4 separate regions of the Homo sapiens genome follow, and all the other regions are linked to region 1. Evidence: promoter capture Hi-C in 16 types of primary human blood cells and fetal thymus (Javierre and others, 2016). All regions are on one chromosome and are shown on one strand. Each heading gives the region's core, a stretch centred on a gene start or on the middle of the fragment in contact. The rest is flanking DNA. Distances are from core to core; before and after follow the strand shown. Region 1 holds the start of SLC19A2 (solute carrier family 19 member 2). Region 2 overlaps LOC125312414 (a long non-coding RNA gene). Region 3 has its middle 33 kb from the start of MIR557. Region 4 has its middle 37 kb from the start of TBX19.

Region 1 (3,282 bases), core at 210-2,709:
AAGCTCTCAAGTGGCCCCTTGACTGATAGTAGGAAAAAGAACATGAGACCTCAGCTTTCACCCTTTGTTGTATTCAAGGAAGAGGGTGTTGAATCGGCTTTATTTCGGTTTTGTGGAAGTACTTTGGGTTTAATTTCTTTCTCAGTTTATATATTGTCTTTCTTCTGCAAAAATCAAGTGCTGGTTTTGACCATGCACTTAAATAGGTCAGCACATTTCTAAAGTACACTATGCGCTTCTGAAGTACTTTATTTGTAAGCCCTCATCTAGGGAAAAAATCAATCAGCAAGAAACTCTTGATGATGGACTACGTGCTCTCAATTACCCTGAACATCACAGAAGGCCTTCAAAGACATCACCTTGTATCTGAGAAGCAAAACTAACATCTGTGAAGCAACAATTCGCAATACAAGAAACACTATAATTAAAAGTCAATTATGTTTCACCATCTGCCTTTATCCCTGGAGGTTGGTCTTAAGGTAGAGAGGGGCAGGATATCCTTGGACACAACCTCACCCAATTAAAAATCAAGACAAATTAAGATGTTCTGTACTTCTGTCCTGTCCTTACTTGATTAAGCCCACCCATTCTGCCAAATGCAAACAAAGTAAGGTATGGACAGGAAGCAGGTGAAGGAGGTAGAGGGAAGATCCTTTCAGAAAAGCAGTGGTTGCCTACTTTCAGTCAATGAATATTTACTAAGCCGTGTCCAAAGTACACTTTGCTGTTTTCACTTCTTTGTCAAAATATTGCCCCCTCGCCCCCAGCAGGAACTGCTGGACCAGTCTGGGCAGTCACGCTAAGCCACATTACAACACGATCAGCATACTGCCTGACGCACAAGGCACGGGGCCTCTGGACGCGTGTTCTGAGCCCTTCGCAGGAGACTCGTCCTACAGAGCCGAAGAAAACAGAAAATCATGAACACAAAGAAGAGCACGAAGCCGACCTCCAACTGGCAAAATCAGAAATCTCTGCCGAGAATGGCTCGAGCGCTTTTCTCGGTCCTCTCTTCCTCCGCTGCCCACCCGCAGGCCGGTCGCCCGCCCTTCCCGCGCCCCGCGTCCGCCGCGCGTACCTCCCTCTCGGTCAGGTTCTTGTCCGGCCCCAGCAGGTACGGGGTCAGGAAGGGCTCGGACGGCCTGAGGCTGGCGAAGAAGCCGTAGGCGCAGAGCAGCGCGGTCGGCAAGAACCAGCATTCGCGACGGACCCGAGCGGTCCGCAGGAGCACAGTGGCCGCCGCCGCCGCCGCCCGCCGAGACACCGGGCCGGGCACATCCATCCGGGGCGCGAGGGGAGGGGACCCGGCCCGGCCCCTTCCTTCTCCTCCTCCGCCAACTGGAGTGAGGGTCAGGCACTTGTAACCGCGAGTGACGCCTTCTCCCTGTAAGGCCAGGACGTTCTGGACTCGCCGCCGCCTCCGGCTACAGAACCCCCAGCTTTACCCTACAGACGCCTCTAGGGTCGCTGCCTGATCGCCCAGTTTAAGGGAGACCCGTCCTAAGGCCCACCCTCTGCCACCGCCTCCACTCCGGGAACCAATCACAGCGGACGCCGGGAATACTTGCCTGCTCTTCCATTGGTCGTGGGTCACACGACGTGAACTGGGGCGGTGGCAGCACGCCAGGCCTCTGACGTCCCAGGGCTCAAGCGCGGAGGACATGTGGAACTCCACTCCAAAAGCGGCGGCTTGCGGCGGAGCTCTCTCTAGTGAGGCGGCCAGCTGGCGTTCGTGGCACACTTGCTGTCGGCTCCGCTCATCTGTTGGGAATGCGTCCTGTGGGCCTAGTCCTCCGCTGGAAGAAACGCGCTGTTCTCCCCAACCACCGTTTATCATTCTTATTCACCGTCTCCGGAATGTCCATTCAGTTTCCGCTCCTGAGAGACTTAGTGACTGAGGCCAGGCAAAGATTTCACCTTGGGGAGGGGGAACGTTAAACCTTTCCTCCAGCAGCTTTCGTGTTTTAAATTGTATTCATCCGCCATGGAAAGACATCAGAAGCCCAGGATCTAAGAGACAGACTGAAATGAAGAAAGTAGATAATATTGTGAGAATAATGAACAAGCTGGTCACTGAACAGCAGAACCGTAATGGAGTCCCAGTTAAAGGGTTTTAACTTTATTTCGTCACTTTTTGCAAGCATGATACAAAGAAAACAAACACCTAACTACGCTACGGTTTATAGTTAAAAGGAAGGTGGAAGATCCTGAGTCATTACAGCAATCACAAAACATGATGGATTTCTTCATTTAAAAACACAAAAGAGGTCTTGGCATAGTTTTCAAGGGCAAAGCATGACAAGACTCTCCAGTGCTTTCTTTCATCCCCCTCTGTGTGCCTTTTTCTGCCTGACTCACAGCCTGGCTCAATCCTAATCTTTCTACTGCAAAGATGCAGCATTTAAAGCAATTTTTCCTGTGCAGTATTTGTAGAATGACAGATCCTGCCAGAAGCTCTTGGAAACATTTTGGAACTATCTTGCTTTTCTGTATGTTATGATCCATCTAGCACCGTTTTCCTCCTGTGGTAGCAAATGACACTTTTTTCAAGCATCAGCAGCAGAAATGAGTCTACCAGATGGAATAAGATACTGGTAAAGGGAAAGATTTGTTTCTAAGACTGCACAAATGAATGCACCCAAATCTGTGAGTTGATTAATCTGTGAAGAAATACAACTGGCAGTATTTACATATCTCAATGAGTCTCAAAGTGTGGTCGAGGAAGCCCTGGGGGTCCTTGGGACCCTTTCAGAGGTTCCACGAGCTCAAATCTATTTTCATAACCATGCTAAGTCTTTATTTCCTTTTCCACTCCAGAGGCTATATAATGTCTGATGACATCATCGCTTTATAGGATGAGAGAATACGTGCTTGTATATTCTTGTGTTTGTAAGACTTTCCAGGTTTAATTTATTACCATATGGCAATTTTCAATAAGTATAACCCACAAAACCCAACAGATTTTTGGGGCACCTCTAACAAGGGTCCTAAGACCAAAATGTTTGAGGACTGCTAATCGATATTATTCAATTGTCTAGTCCCCTAAACTCCAACCCTTCTTATCAGGACTACAGAGAGAAAACAGGTGGTCTTCTTGACAATCGCTTTGTATTTACATTCAGTGCTTTAGTAGAAGAGAAGAAAGAAAGAGAAAGCAAGCCAGAGAGGCCTCGGAAAGAGAAGCCTACTTATTAAAAATAGCTTTCTGGCTGGTCACGGTGGCTCACTCCTGTAATCCCAGCACTTTGGGAGGCCGAGACGGGCGGATCACTTGAGGTCAGG
Region 2 (3,098 bases), core at 53-2,552, 1.0 Mb before region 1:
AGGCAGAAAGAGGAGGGTTAACTTGGCTGGGAGAGGAGATAAGGAAATGTCTAACCAGTCTTCTCACCACCAAAAAACAAAACAAAACAATTCAAAACGAAACAAAACAAAAAAACTATTAGCACCTGGCACAGCACCTGTCATATAGTAATAGAAGCTTAATACATATTTTGTGAATAAATATAAAAATTAGAGGTTGAAGTAGAACTGCGGACTGTCCATTACCATGCTTGATACTTCAGTAGAATGTGTGCCAAAGAATATGGTCCCAGCTCCTCTCTGGGCTTAGGTCTGGTCTCTCCTCAGCTTCTCAGCTTTATAGGTCAGGAATTTCCCAAGCTATCATTTTACTTTGATCCTCTCAGGAACAGAAGTGAGAAAGAAGAGATGAGGTATAGCTAGAAATTTATGAGAAGGGATGGGAAGGAGAAAATAGTGCTGACTTGACCCTGTACTGACAGGGACACCTGCCCATCAGCAATGCTTTGAGCTGCAAGTAGAAGCTGGGGGGTCAGGGAGAGGCTATGTTGGTGGCTATAGAGTAACAGATGACCTGGTTGACCTTGATTATTGACCAACCTATTACAATGAAATGGTTGAGGGATTACAAGTACAGACACAAATAATTTTATATGTAATAAGTAAATTAATACTTTATATGTTTTTTTTTCTGGGAAGATGGAAAGCTGTTTGTTAGAGCAAAGAATTCTAATAGTGCCACATGTGTAATAAAAATCAGATTCATGACCATGACCTTCAGTTCCTGCTTTATGTTGGATTAGCCTTGGGCAAGTCAAATAAACTAGAGAAAAGAGTATTTCCATTTTCCTCTGTAAAACCAAGTTGGCCCAAACGTATATTCCTCCTTTTATATGATTAGTGTGAGCGTTCAAGCTGGGTGGAGGCAGGGCATCTCTTTTGTAATAAGTTGTCACCAGAAAGTCTCATTTTGTTGAGAAGAGAAACCCCTGCAATTGATGGGACTTGGAACAAACTTTCTGGGACACTAAATGGCAGGAGAGCCAGTGTTTTAAGAAGTCATTTCTGTCCTGGTTTGTTATTAAACTGTGGAGCTTCCTTTTCAAGATAGTAAAGATAGTAATAAGTCATGTAATACAAATTGATTCAAAAGGAGACTTAGGGGCTTACAGAATCCCAAGACAGACAAGCATTAAAAGTGCCTGCGGATCCGGCAGGAAGCCAATCCCCAGATGTTACTTTTGGCTGGGAAGGGTGAGGAGGAAGCGGTGGCCTTGCTCTGGCTTAATCTGCAGTGACAACCGTGGCGAGCATGAGTCACTCTGGGCCTCATCTGAACCCTATCTTGGCATCTTGCTTGTGGAGAGGCAGTGCTGTATAATGGTTCAGAGCAGGCTTTGGAACAGACTGCCTGGACAAGCTACTTAATTGCTCTGTTCCTTAGTTTCCTCATCTGCAAAGTAGGGGGAAATAGCAGCACCTACCTCGCTGGGTTGTTGTGAAGTTTAAATAAATTAATACATGTGAAGTACTTAGAACATTGCCTGGCACATTTGCTAGATGGTCAATAAATGTTGCATATTATTTTATATGGGCTATTTCTTCAGTTCAGTATTCTGAGTCTCTAATCTGAGAAACTTGGTGGCACAAATATTTCCTAGTTAGGCAAGCACTTTGTAATGTTTTTAATTTGTAATAGAAAACAAGGATAACTTAGCAAATGAATACCCACAAGCAAACACTGCACTTCATTTTAACCAGACAATCCAATATCTTTCCCTAGCACACTTTTGTTCTGAGAGGGAAATCAAAGAAACTAGAGCTTTCTTTCTTTCTCTTAATCCTGCATACCTTCCACTGTAGGTACCAACTGTCATTTAATAAAAGCTCTGCAGCAGAAGAGAAAACAGGCAGAGCAAACAGCCCTAATAATTTACTTATTTTTGATTCACATCCTAATAATAATGGTCACCATGGTTTAGAGTAATATTGAATTCCTATTACTTGCCACCTGTGCTGTAGTTAAAATGTCTTTTCTAACACTGATACCCCCTTATGTCCCATTTCCTCCACGATAAGAATTGTTATCTATATTTTTACCCATTTCAGCAAACATTTGTGGAATATCTTTCATGTGCCAGGTAATGTGCTAGACTTAAGTAGAATAATGTCCCTTCCTTCAAAAAGGAAGCAAAGGGGACATATGAGAAAAGGCAATGATCGGTAAAAGCACTAAATGTGAATATTTGGGAAATAAATTATTTAAATCACCATTTATTCCCCCTTGGAATAAATGATGATTTTCTTTAGCAGCGCATGTTGATAAAATTTTCATGTGTTTTAGCCACCCCCCCAAAAAAATCCCAAGTGCATTCAAGGTGAAATGACTCAGGAACCAAGCCTCATTTCAAGGCTCTAAGCAGCTTTCATACAGAACTGAGTCAATTACAAACATAAGACTGGCTTGGGAAGCTTAAAACAACAGGGACATGATGAGAATAAAATTTAAGCTTTGCATGGCTGACTTAAAGCTTTCCAATTAATTTCACAACATAATTGACTTCAGACTCCGTATTTTGTCCTGCTTTGGAGTAAATTATGCATATCATTTCACCACTGAGTGATCTCTGATGAATGAGTTTTCCTTCCCACCATAAGGAGGATGGCTCTAGCTTTCTTTTTCTCTGGGAGTATTGTTTTTCCCTTTTCTTCTGGTCTCATGGAGTTCCAGGGTCTAACCACTAAGGCAGAGCAAAACTAGAACTAGTTGGAAATCCCACTGATGAGTCAGAGCCCAGTGAATTAGTAACAGTGCTTGAGGCATTCCTCCTCCAGGGATCTTTTATGAAAGCTTTAACTCATGCTCCATTTTCAGAGAGAACTGGCAGGTACAACTCTCAAGCCCTAAATTTTCTCCAGAACTTGGACCCTACATATATATATATACTCATATATATACACACACACACACACACGCATATATACATATGTATATATATGTATATAGGTATATATGTGTGTGTGTATATATGTATGTGTGTGTATATATATAAAAAAATATAAATATATAAAAATATATAAAAGGCCGGGCGCGGTGGCTCACGCCTGTAATCCCAGCA
Region 3 (3,117 bases), core at 570-3,069, 1.1 Mb before region 1:
GGTATGAGAGAAGGTCTCACTGTGGTTAGGGTGACAAAAATGGGTGAACAACAAAAGGAATATTTCTTCCAGGAGCCTGATGTTGTGACTCAGGAGTTTTGTGCTGAGAAGAAGAAAAACCAGCCATGATCATGACAGGGAGTGGTGTTTATGGCCATGTTGTGGTCAATCTATCATAACAAGAGGCTGATAGGTGAGGAATTGCTAAAATATTTTTTTAAATTGGGAGGTCATGTATAATAATTAAAAAATATATATATAAATTGGGAGGTCATTAGGCTGGAATGGCTCCTGGGCTTTAAGTTCCCACTAAGCAAACCAAATCCCAGCATAAAACAGTGAAATGAAACTAGCGCCTTTATCAGTCAGAAACCACCAACAGAAGTTAGTTTGTGGTTGCTGACTGGTAAAGACTCTAGTCGATATTGAAATACGTTTTCTTTGCCTTCCTTCTGCATTTAGCCCATAAACTTGCTGTCCAAGCTGCTGCAGCAGTCTTCTGAACTGCTTCTGGTTCTGAGTGCTGCCCAACTCATGAGTTGTTCTTTGGACAAATAAACTCTGTTAAATTTATTTTGTCTAAAGTTTTTCTTTTAACAGCTCTAAGCCTTGTCCTCTTTTCCCATGACAACCCTTCACATGTTTGAATATAGCTCTTCAGTTTCTCCCTAGGCCTTCCATTCTTCTACTGCAAACATTGTCAGCAGCTTTGAATTTTCCTCATATGCCGTGATTTCTAAAACTTTCATCAGTTCCCTTTCCTTTTCTGCTGTGGCAGGCAGAATAGAATGGAGATCTGTAGACATGACCCCACCATGGCATATTCAGTAGAGCTCCCATCTTTCCTGCTCCCAACACTGCCTTTCTCTTTCAGCACTGCCTAAGACTGCTTTGTCATTTTTGGCAGCCACATTGGGTTACTAAAATGCCTGGGGCTTCCCACATGAACTGCTATTAAGCCAAGTTTCAACATCCTGTATTTGTATGGTTAACTTAAAAAAATATATATTTCCAGGACTTTAGTCTTAACTCATAATATAAGCCCGTTAAATTACTTTTGAATGACTTCTGCCATGTAACGCATTACCAAACCTTTCAAGCCTATATCTTCTAAAATTTGATAAGCATGTGTCAGAGTCTTCACATTGACAGAAATATTCCACAGACACAGATGAGCACTGAGAGCTGTAACTACCAAAAATCCTAGAAAAGAGGGATAACTTCCACATTAACTCTTAGTTAACTAGAAAATTGAATTAATCAGGCTGCCCAGTCCCCGATCCTTCTAATTAACTAAAGTTCACAGCATTATCATTATTAAAAGTGTGAAGAAGTCTTGTATGAATGTCCCCACTTTGGGCATACGTAATACATAGCAGGTGCTATTAGAGGTTCAAGCTTGCAGAGGAATCACAAACAGCCATCAGACGTAACTTTAGTTAAATAAGCTGAAGCTATTTTTCCTAAGTGTTTATTTCTAGTTGGTTCACAGGGTCCTCTCCATCCCTACTTACGGGAGGCCATTCACATCACTTTGATGGTTTGCATAACCTGGAGATTTCAGAGCTTGGATATTAAAACCTCTTTTTCTCCTTCAAGTCTTGGTTTTAGTCCTCAGAGCTCTCTGCAGGGGAATGAGGACCCCAGAGAAAGTCACATTGCTTACATTTTCCTGCTTCCCCCTCTGTCTCTCCATTTATTCCTTAGGGGAGAATATCGTATTGGGGGAGGAGCGCAGGAAAAGTCACCCAAAAGCCATGGGAAAGGTTGTGGAAATGGGGAGTGCTGGTCCCACCCCTTTCGTCCTGGTGATGGGGTGGGACGGCAGGCGCCAGCCTCCGTTTTTCTGCCCGTGGGTATGTGTGGTTGACCTCCTTAAATCAGAGCCAAGCGCGTGACCCAGAACTCTGCACAATCACCCACGCCCACGGCAAAGCAGATGAGGCTCTAGAGCTTGCAAGTCTTTATCTAGGGAACTGCGTCATCCTCCTCGGTCGGACACCAGGTGGCAGCAAAGCTCCAACTCATCAGTCACCCCACCCTCCGTCCAGGCCGTCTTCTGACGCAGAACTTAAAAAAGATACTGCAGATTTTCCTTCTAAGGAAGGAGCTACCCATACAAAACTAGCAGCTTTAGAGAGAGCCATAGCTAAAACTGAAACGTCGTCAGGATAAAAGCTGCCTTCTGAGTAGGACAGGCAAAACACCAAAAACAAAGTTCAAAACCAAATAATCATTTACGAAGCTTCTTGAGGAGGGTATAATGCAATTTTGGTCCTGGTGCAAAGAAATAAATTTGGTTCTGTAAGCAAAAAAATAAATTTTGGTATATAAATGTAGGGGATTCATTATTAACTGAATCTTATTCTTTAGTCGAAGAAGGTTTCCTGAAGAAGGAGGGGTGTCAGGCAATTTTTTAAATACCAGAAAGCTGAGCCTAAGATGCACTTATGAGGGTTAAGTGGTCCATTGAAATAAATATATTTGCTTACAGTATAAAGGATTTTATACTGCAGTTTTGGTAGAGTTGTCTGACCTGACACCTCGATATTAGAGGTGTATGAAAAGAGACAAAGCTTGTGGTTTTCTGAGGCCCCCCTGCTACCTGCTTGGCAGTGAAAATGTGAAGGTTTCATAATAAGTTGTTGGCTCTGGAGGAGATGGTTCTACATGTTTTACTGGTGTCCAAGGTCTACCGATGACTCTAGGGCCTGCAGTACTAATGAGCATCTCGTAGACAGTATATGGACCTCAGGCAGATGTTAAGATAGGGCCAGCCGAGGAGCTTTCTAATTGAGGAGGATTTACTCAGAAGGAAGAGTCCATCTGTGTTCTTTGAGCGTTTTGGAGAGTGGATGATCGAGCCCACTGTGTAACACAGCCCTGTTGTATTGCTGCCTCCTAGAGGAAGGACAAGGACAAGTGGGGGACAGAGGAGGCAGTGAAAACAGGAGTGGATCATTAGGGCCCAGAACACCTGAGTCCTGTCTCTCTAGGAAAAGCCAAGGTATCATGAGACCTCTGGTTGTTAGAATGTCGTAAGCCCACCCCACCATCCCTGCTCCCCACTCCCTCTCACATGCACTGCTGCTTCAAAAGGATTTTTTTTTGAGTGCT
Region 4 (2,972 bases), core at 138-2,637, 1.2 Mb before region 1:
AGGAATGTTTTCATCACCTAAGTTATTAAGAAAAAAACTCAATAAAGGATATTCGAAGCTTGGTAGGTCTTCACCACTTTCTTCAAGACTAGAATAGATTTGAGTGAATATCAGCAAGTTAAAATGTCACATTTGTGAAGAATATGAATTCTGTTTTACGGAAATTGTGGGTCAGCCAAAGTAGGGGATGGCAACTGGGGCATTCAAGTGGCCCTTCTTTCAACTCCTTCCTTTTTATTTTCTCCACCCATTCCCACTTTATTGAGCCACTTGTTGGCTACTGGCCAGGTTGGTGAACAGAGAGAGTACGGGCATCCTTGAGCCACTTGTTGGCTACTGGCCAGGTTGGTGAACAGAGAGAGTACGGGCATCCTGGAACAGAGGTTAAGGTAGGGATATGTGGTGCCACAAAAGATATAAAGGAACAGCCTCTGTGGTCTGAAGACACCAAAACTTTTCCATCATCATCATTATAGACACATCTATGGGGTAGTCTGTCCAACCCCCCAACCTTCTAGGAATAGAACCCCCCCAAACTCTTGGTGAAACTACCTTTTTGGAATAAGTAATGAGAGAAATCTAACGTGACTGACTCCATCTTGCTTCTAACCTCACAGGCTAAATTTCTTTTTTTTTTTGTAGACTGAAGCTGCGTTCATAAGACAAGGCTAAAATTGTGGTAGGGCCTTGGACTTTGCTGTAGAATAGGCATAGTTAAACCATGACCTGCCATCGCTTAGTTTGTTTTTCTATAAGTTGTTTACTGCCCCAGAATCACAAAACTGGGGGTCACATGATTTATAACTCCCCCATCTACTCCTATAGCTAACATCACTATTGTGAAACCTAAAGAACTGGTCTTTGAGATATCTTTCAGATTTAGCATTGTGACAAAACAAGAGATGCCACCTGGTCCTGAGGCCCTCTTCCAGGAACTGACTCAGCCACACGAAGACAGTTTTAGGTGTCCCTGTGATTTCATCTCCAGCCAATCGTTTCAGTTCTCCAGCCCCCTTCCTGCCAAAGTACCTAGGCTACTGAAATAAAACTGGCGTCTGGGAAACCCGGAGGCCAGAGCAACTGGTCAGGCCCAGGTGAGGACTTAGAATTCAACTAGTTGGGAGTGAGAAGTTGGTCAATCTCTCATTCTCAACATGGAAACATCGGAAATTCACATTTTCTGGTCATGACCACTCTTATTTGGAGCACTTTGTAGGAGTAACTGTGTGTGTTTATGTGTGTGTGTGTGTGTGTGTGTATGCACAAGTATGTCTATTTAGTGATGAGTTCCCTGTCCCTAGAGAATAAGTCAATAAACCTTTGGGGTAGATTCACTTTGTTCTGAAAGAACACTTTTTAGGGGGTGGAGTTTGGGGAGGAGTGTTAACAAGGAGTTTTGGGTTAACCAGGGCTGGTTCTGGAGGATGGAGCTGTGGTATCCCTCCTACATACTTATTAGATGGGGAGGGCTTGGAGCTTGGAGGTTGCTGAGGAGGAATCAGACATATTTTAGGTGGGAACGTAGTAATCTCTTAGAAGGAAAGACCTTTTCTATTTGTGGTTAAAATGTAGTGAAATATATTGGATGGCTTGGGTTAGCCCAGACCAAGGTTGGGCAGCAGGAAAAGTATATTTCCTCTAAGACAAAATTATATTACCACAATGGGAGGAGTAGTTTGAATGGATGACTGGTTTCCACACAAGAGCAACTGGAGGTAAGAGATGCTCCTGGACCCAATGTGGACTTATGCAGCCACCTGGACACTGCCATGCCTTGAGAAAAATGGCTGGTGTGTGGGTTAAAAGAGTGGATCCTCAAGCGTTAACACTTGGGGCCTGGGCTAAAGTTGCTAAGTGGGATATGTTGGGGGAAAATGTCCAGGGTTGTAATGACAGGAAGTCATGAGAGATTGAGGATACTCCATGGATTTCTGTTAACTTGAGCAGGTGGGTGTTGATGGTTACTAGAGTTAGAAATTTAAATTAGAGAAATGGCTAATTGTGTTATTACAGGGTGGATGACTGTCTTGGTTATACTTGAGGACAAAAACTGTCTTCCATTGCTGTACCTCCAACACCTTGCACATGTGCCTGGTAGGTACATGGTAGGCACCCCACAGGTATTAATCCAGAATTTTTAGAAATAATCCTTAGCAGTACTTGGAAATTTTAGGTGGGGAAACATGTTTGGTTTGATAAAAAGTTCTTTGTATATTTTTGTCAAAGTTGTGTCTTTATAAGATCGTATTTCTTTAGAAAAGTTTTTTTTTGTTGTTATTTGTTTGTTTGAGACAGAGTCTTGCTCTGTTGCCTAGGCTGGAGTGCAGCGGCACGATCTTGGCTCGCTGCAACCTCTGCCTGCTGGGTTCAAGCAATTCTCCTGCCTCAGCCTCCCGAGTAGGTGGGATTACAGGCGCTCACCGTCATGCTTGGCTAATTTTTTTGTATTTTTGTAGAGATAGGGTTTCACCATGTTGGTCAGGCTGGTCTCAAACTCCTGACCTCTGGTGATCCACGCGCCTCGGCCTCCCAAATTGCTGCGATTACAGGCATGAACCGCCGGGCCCAGACAGATTATTATTTTTAATAGCTTTATTGATATATAATTTACACAGCCTATTTAAAGGGGAAATTCATTGGACTTTTCTAGTATATTTACAGAGTTGTGTGCCCATAACCATAATCTAATTTTAGAACATTTTTGTCACCCTACAAAGAAAGCTTATACCCATTAATAGTCACTGCCCACTTCCTTCCTACTCACCTCCACCCCCTCCCCTAGGCAGCCACTTATCTCCTTTCTTTCTCTATAGATTTCCCATTCTGGACACTTCATTTGGCTGGAGTCATGTGATGTATGGTCTTTTGTGACTAGCTTCTTTCACTTAGAGGATCCTTGATGCTGTGGCGTATATCAGTACTGCATTCCTTTTTCTGCCAAGTAATATTCCATTGATAAATACAGCCACATC

What was found. Contacts are between HindIII fragments. The CHiCAGO score rates a contact against its expected background, and 5 or more counts as called.
Region 2: a contact is called between a fragment that was not itself captured here and the fragment with the promoter of SLC19A2 in region 1, in 1 of 17 cell types (fetal thymus). The highest score is 5.9, in fetal thymus.
Region 3: a fragment that was not itself captured here is called in contact with the fragment with the promoter of SLC19A2 in region 1 in 3 of 17 cell types (total B cells, total CD8 T cells and naive CD8 T cells); the score reaches 8.0 in total B cells.
Region 4: a fragment that was not itself captured here is called in contact with the fragment with the promoter of SLC19A2 in region 1 in 1 of 17 cell types (naive CD8 T cells); the score reaches 8.1 in naive CD8 T cells.

What each region holds. Positions count from the first base shown.
Region 1 is chr1:169,484,485-169,487,766 of GRCh38, forward strand. SLC19A2 (solute carrier family 19 member 2) reads right to left here and starts at 1,460. Exons shown (of 6, transcript NM_006996.3): 1 at 1,079-1,460. The coding sequence starts at 1,282. RefSeq lists enhancers at 865-924, 1,467-1,761, 1,565-1,814, 1,597-2,517, 1,825-1,894 and a silencer at 1,105-1,284. The HindIII fragment of the contact is 10,248 bases long and covers 1-3,282 here.
Region 2 is chr1:168,468,582-168,471,679 of GRCh38, forward strand. The region is part of intron 3 of LOC125312414 (a long non-coding RNA gene); the gene reads right to left. All of the region lies in intron 4 of LOC101928565 (a long non-coding RNA gene), which reads right to left. Among named protein-coding and RNA genes, the nearest start is that of XCL2, 74 kb to the right of the region's middle. The HindIII fragment of the contact is 2,294 bases long and covers 156-2,449 here.
Region 3 is chr1:168,340,874-168,343,990 of GRCh38, forward strand. No RefSeq gene overlaps it. Among named protein-coding and RNA genes, the nearest start is that of MIR557, 33 kb to the right of the region's middle. The HindIII fragment of the contact is 847 bases long and covers 1,397-2,243 here.
Region 4 is chr1:168,316,553-168,319,524 of GRCh38, forward strand. No RefSeq gene overlaps it. Among named protein-coding and RNA genes, the nearest start is that of TBX19, 37 kb to the left of the region's middle. The HindIII fragment of the contact is 2,663 bases long and covers 57-2,719 here.